2 separate regions of the Homo sapiens genome follow, and region 1 is linked to region 2. The links are contacts of gene promoters, found by promoter capture Hi-C in human tissues and cell types (Jung and others, 2019). All regions are on one chromosome and are shown on one strand. The core of a region is centred on a gene start or on the middle of the fragment in contact, and the rest is flanking DNA. Distances in the headings are between cores, read along the strand shown.

Evidence for each region. Contacts are between HindIII fragments. The study calls those that stand out against the background at their distance.
Region 1: a contact is called between a fragment that was not itself captured here and the fragment with the promoter of TFDP2 in region 2, in 2 of the 25 tissues and cell types used here (heart right ventricle and thymus).

Annotation. Positions count from the first base shown.
Region 1 is chr3:141,594,016-141,596,771 of GRCh38, reverse strand. All of the region lies in intron 19 of RASA2 (RAS p21 protein activator 2), which reads right to left. Among named protein-coding and RNA genes, the nearest start is that of RASA2-IT1, 70 kb to the right of the region's middle. The HindIII fragment of the contact is 4,526 bases long and covers 1-2,756 here.
Region 2 is chr3:142,148,164-142,150,863 of GRCh38, reverse strand. TFDP2 (transcription factor Dp-2) reads left to right here and starts at 1,320. Exons shown (of 13, transcript NM_001178139.2): 1 at 1,320-1,681. RefSeq lists silencers at 1,045-1,094, 1,205-1,414, 1,475-1,544, 1,775-1,824 and an enhancer at 1,175-1,675. The HindIII fragment of the contact is 11,710 bases long and covers 1-2,700 here.

The sequences.
Region 1 (2,756 bases), core at 71-2,570, 550 kb after region 2:
AGACACTCTAGTTGGTGTGAAATGGTATCTCATTGTGGTTTTAATTTGCATTTCCCTAATAATGATGTTGAGCATCTTTTCATATGCTTATTATCCACTTGTATAATCTCTTTGATAAAATGTTTGTTCATATCTATCGTCCTCTTTTTAAATTGGGTTTTTGAAAATTCTAGATACAAGTATATTAGATAAGCGTTTTGCAAATATATTCTTCCAGTCTGTTGCTTACCTTTTCATTTTCTTAATGGTCCTCTTTTGAAATGTTTTTGAATTTTGATGAGATCCAATTTATCAAATATTTTCTTTTATAGACCATACATTTAGTTATGTAAGAAATCTTTGCCTAACCTATAAAGGCTCAAAGATTTTCTTTACTTGTTAATAACAATCAATTTCCCTTTACATACTGTTTTAGCTGTATCCCACAAACTTTGATATATTTGTTGCATTTTCATTATCATTTAAGTTAAAAATATTTTTGAGTTTCCTTGTGAATTCTTCAATCTATAGGTTACTTAGAAGTATTTTATTTAATTTCCAAATATTTGGGGCTCTTCCAGGTATCATATTGTCATTAATTCTGTTGTGATCAGAGAACATACTTTGTAAAAAGTCAATCTTTTGATATTTACTGAGACTCCAGGCCCAGCATATGGCGGCCTATTTTACTGAATGTTCCAATGCACATTTCAAAAGAATATGTATTCTGCACCTGTTTGGCCTAGTGTCCCATAAATGTAAATTAGATCAAGGTGACTGATAGTATTATTTCAAACTTCTGTAAGAAAACTGGTTCTTGTGCTCAGCTCCTCTAACAATTGCTGAGAGAAGACTATTAAAATATTCAAGTACAGGCCAGGTGCAGTGGCTCATACCTGTTAATTCTAGGCCGAGGCAGGAGGATCACTTGGGTCCAGGAGTTTGAGACCACCCTGGGCAACAAAGTGAGACCTTGCAGCTACAAAAAATCAGAAAATCAGCCAGATGTGGTGGCGTCCACCTGTGGTCCCAGGTACACAGAAGGCAGAGGCAGGAGGATCTCTTGAGCCCAGGAGGTCAAGGCTGCAGTGAGCTATGTCTGTGCACTCCAGCTTGGGAGACAGAGCAAGACCCTGTCTCAAAAAAAGAAAAAAGAAAAAGAAAAAAGAAAAAAAGAAAAAAAAATTCAACTAGAATTGTAGATGTCCTATTTCAATTCTGTTTTTTTCTCCAACTACATTGAAGTTGTAATTAGGTATGTACACATTTAGGATTATGTGCTCCTTCTGCCATTATAAAATGTGCCCAAACATATTTGGTAAAAGTTGTTTTGACATCTACTTGGTCTGGGATTACTGCTTACTGTTTACATCATCTTTCTCCACCCAATTACTTTCAACCTATCTGTGCTTTTATAATATATTTAACGTGGATATATTGTAGAAAGTATATTATTGGATCTTGCTTTTTAAAATATAGTCTGATAGTCTCTTTCAATGTATTGTAGTTCATTTACATTTACTGTAATTATTGATATGGCTGGGTTTAAGCTATCATTTTGTTATACGTTTTCTGTCTGTCTCATCTGATTTTTGCTCCTCTGTTCTTCCCTTCCTCACATTTTAATTTATTTATTGTTTGGGAGGAGGAGAGGGGATGGATTAGTTATGTCAAGTATTTCCCTAAATTTTTGTTCTAGATATTATAATATACAGCCTTAACTCATCACAGTCTACTTAAAATTATTCTTGCATCACTTCACATAAAATATAAGACCCTTGGAATAATTTACTCCACCCCCTTCCTTTGTGCTGTTACTGTCATATATTTCATATCCAGATATGTTATAAACCCTATAATTAAATGTTATACATTTTGCATCGAACAGTTGCTTTTTAAAGAAATGGAGAAAAAAAAAACAGGCATTCTTACATTTACCCACATATTTACCATTTCCAGTGCTCTTTACTCCTTGTAGATCTAAGTTTCCATCTGGTATTATTTCCTTTCAGCCTGAAGAATTTCCTTTAGCATTTCTTATAGTGCAGGCTTGCTCACAATGGAGTCTCTCTCAGCTTTCATTTATTTAAAATATATTTTCATTTTCAAAGAAAATTTTCTCTAGAATGTTAGGTTGAGACTTTTGTTCCTTTAGCATTTTAAACAGGTCATTCCACTGTCCTCCAGTTTTAGTTGCTTTTTATGAGGAGTTGGCTGTCAACTGTACTGTTGTTCCCCTGTGTATGTATCTTGTCTTTTGTTTCTCTGCTTGCAAGATTTTCTCTTTATCTCTGGTTTGACTATTTTATGTCTAAGTGCGGTTTCCTTTGCGTTTATCATGCTTGCAGTTCATTGAGCTTCTCAGATCTATAAGATACTGTTTCACCAAATTTGGGAAATTTTAGGCCATTATTTCTTCAAAAAAAAATTTTTTTTTTTGTCCAATTCTTTCTCTACTCTCCTTCTAGGACACCAACCATGCATATGTTAGACTACCTGATATTGTACTAAAGGGTCACTGAGGTTTTGTTCATTTCCCCCAAGTCTTTTCTGTGTTCTAGATTGGTTCATTTCTACTGATCGATCTTCAAGTTCAGTGAACCAATCTGTTGTTAAGCCCATCAGATTTTTGATGTCAGGTATCGTGCTTTTCAATTCTAGAATTTCCATTTGATTCCCTTTTTATTTTCTTTTTTGGCTGAGATTCCCCATTTCTTTACTCATGATGACTACTTTTCCACTAAGTCCTTGAAATATTTATAATAGAGGCTTTAACG
Region 2 (2,700 bases), core at 71-2,570:
TCTTACCTATCTCATCTCCTTTAGGCATTTGCTTAAATACCACCTTCTCCGTGCTACCTTCCCAGATCACTCTATTTAGGACTGAAGCCATTCCTCCAACACCTCTGCTTATATTTTTTTCCCATAGCACACATACCAGCATGTAATATAGTTTTTGTTTTACGTATTCTTTTGCATATTATCTTTCCCATCCTGCTAGAATGTAAGCTCCATGAAGGCAGGAGTTTTTGTCTCTATTTTGTCCACTGATGTCTCCCCATATCAAGAATAGTGTTTGGGGCCGGGCGTGGTGGCTCACGCCTGTAATCCCACCACTTTGGGAGGCCCAGGCGGGAGGATCTCTTGAGTCCAGGAGTTCCAAACCAGCCTGGGAAACATGGCGAAACAGCCGGGTGTGGTGGCGCGGGCCTGTAGTCCCAGCTACTCGGGAGGCTGTGGTGGTAGGATCACCTGAGACTGGGAAGTCAGGGCTCCAATGAGCCGTGATCCTGCCACCGCACTCCAGCCTCGGTGAGAGCAAGACCCCGTCTCAAAAACAAACAAAGTGGCATATAGAAGATCTATAAGATTTGACTGGAGTAAAATGAGAAAGATCTAATCGTTTTAATGCGCTGTTCACACGGGGTTTTTAACTTCGGCACGAACGAATGAACAAAATCTTTTCATATGGAACCAAGTGTACGGGTATTTGGGGTGTGTGCAGTTTCCGCGGGACAGAATGACCTGTCCTGGTTTGGGTATTAACTTGCCTTGATATTGAAGAACCTCCACATTCCCAGTGGTCTCTAACTCATTGTCTGAATAATTTCAAGGTGTCCCACAGTTGGCCCCACGCATAGCCTCAATCACGATCACTCGCCCCCCTGTCCCTTATTGATGCTCCCCCAGGGCGACCCCGCAAAGGCCTGGGGACCGAATGGAACTGCCCCAGTCCCCCTCCTTCCAAGAGAGCTGGGGTTTTCTGGCTTCGGGGTCAGTTGGAAAAGAGATTCCCACCCAAGTCGCAGGGTGGGAGTAGGGGGGATGAGATAGGAGTGATGAAGGAAGTGTGTCTAAAATTCTAGGCCTCAGGCCCGCAGCTGTCCCTGGAGGCGGCGGGGAAGCGGGGTGGTCGGGTCCTGCGGAGGGCTCCCAGGGAGGCCACAGGGGGAACCAAGGGGCGGTGGCTGAGTGCACGAGTCCCGCCCCTCCATCTGTTGGCCCCCTACTCTCAAAGGGAAGCCTGGGGGCGGGGTTTGTTTACTCCGTGCACGCACTGCCGGCCCGGCCAATCCGTGGGGAGCGGCGCCAGGCGTCGCACATTCTGAGGGCCAATCGGCGCGCACTGTGCTGCTCCGCCGCCAAAGCTCGCGCGGGGGAAGCGGGGCTGTAGCTGGGCAGGGAGAGGGCGGACGAAATCGGTAGCGATCTCGGCTGCGGCGCTGCCGCAGCTGCCCGGCCCGCGGGGCGCGCCCTGACCCTTCATCTTTGGGCAGGCTCGAGGGCGCGCGCACGGTTGGCGTTCTGGGGCCTCAAACTCCTGGGCCTTGACCGGGCAGGCCGCGTCTCCCCGGGTGTGAGTCCACCGGGACCCGGCCGCCGCCTAAGCGCGGGCGCCACAGAAGCGGCGGCGCCCGAAGACGCGCTCCTGGCTCGGCCCGACAGCCTCGCTTGGCCGCCAGTTCTTCTGCAGCCGAAGGCGGTAAGGTCTGGGGCGAGGGCGCGGGCCCGCGCGCGGAGGGCCTTTGGACCCGGCCGGGCGCGTTCCTGGGTAGGTTTCCCTCCCTGCGCACAGGGGCCCCCTTGTTCCCCCACGAGTCCCATCTGTTTAGACCTGGGTTCTCCAGGCCTGGCCGGGTAACCCGTGAGTGTCTGGGCCAGAGTCGAAAGCAGAGGAGGGTCACCCTCTTAGTGCATAGAGCAAATCGGGGGAGGTAACGTCCCTGAGTCACGCCTCGTGGAAGAGGGGAAGGGCTGCTTTCTACTTTCTCGTTCTCTTCAAAGAAGGATGGCTTCTAAATCTGGTTTTCCGATTTTTCCCTTCTCCTTTCATGACTCACAGGCCTCTGTGTCCACCAGGTGTTTTGTTTGTTTTTAAAGAGTTTCTAAGCTTTGTGTGCTTGGAAGAACCTCATATGCCCCATAAAGGAACTTTTCTCTGAAGTAGAGGATCGCTTTTTGGGCCCAGACTCCTTTGAGAAAATCTGGAAAGCCAAGGTCTGTCTTCACAAAGAAGTGTAAGGGTTTTCCTAGGATCTCGCTGAGAGACAGTACAACGAAGTGGATGAGCGCCCCAGTCTCTCTTACCAGCCTGTGCTATCTCCCATTGTGTGATCTCGGTTTCTTCATCTGTAAATTAGATGCATCCACCTATTCGGTGTGTTTCGGGGAGTGAATGGACTAATGTATGGAATGCAATCGTAAGAAAATCCTCCACGTATTAAATGCCTTGCATTAGTTAGGCACTTTTATTATTGACTGCCATGGATGCTGGTTTAGAAAAAGACCCTATATTATTTCCCTTTTAGTGTTGAGACAGTGAACGGGCTCATTCCTTTTCCATATTCACTGCTGAAGCTGCCTTTGAGCCCATGAATACTTTTATCTTTTCCTCATTCCATCTCAGAGGGCACAGACTCCCTCTCACTTATTTGCTTTCTTTCAGTAAGGCTCTCTTTTAGCTCAGCCTTCTCCTTCCCCTGTCTCCCCGAGATCTGAGTT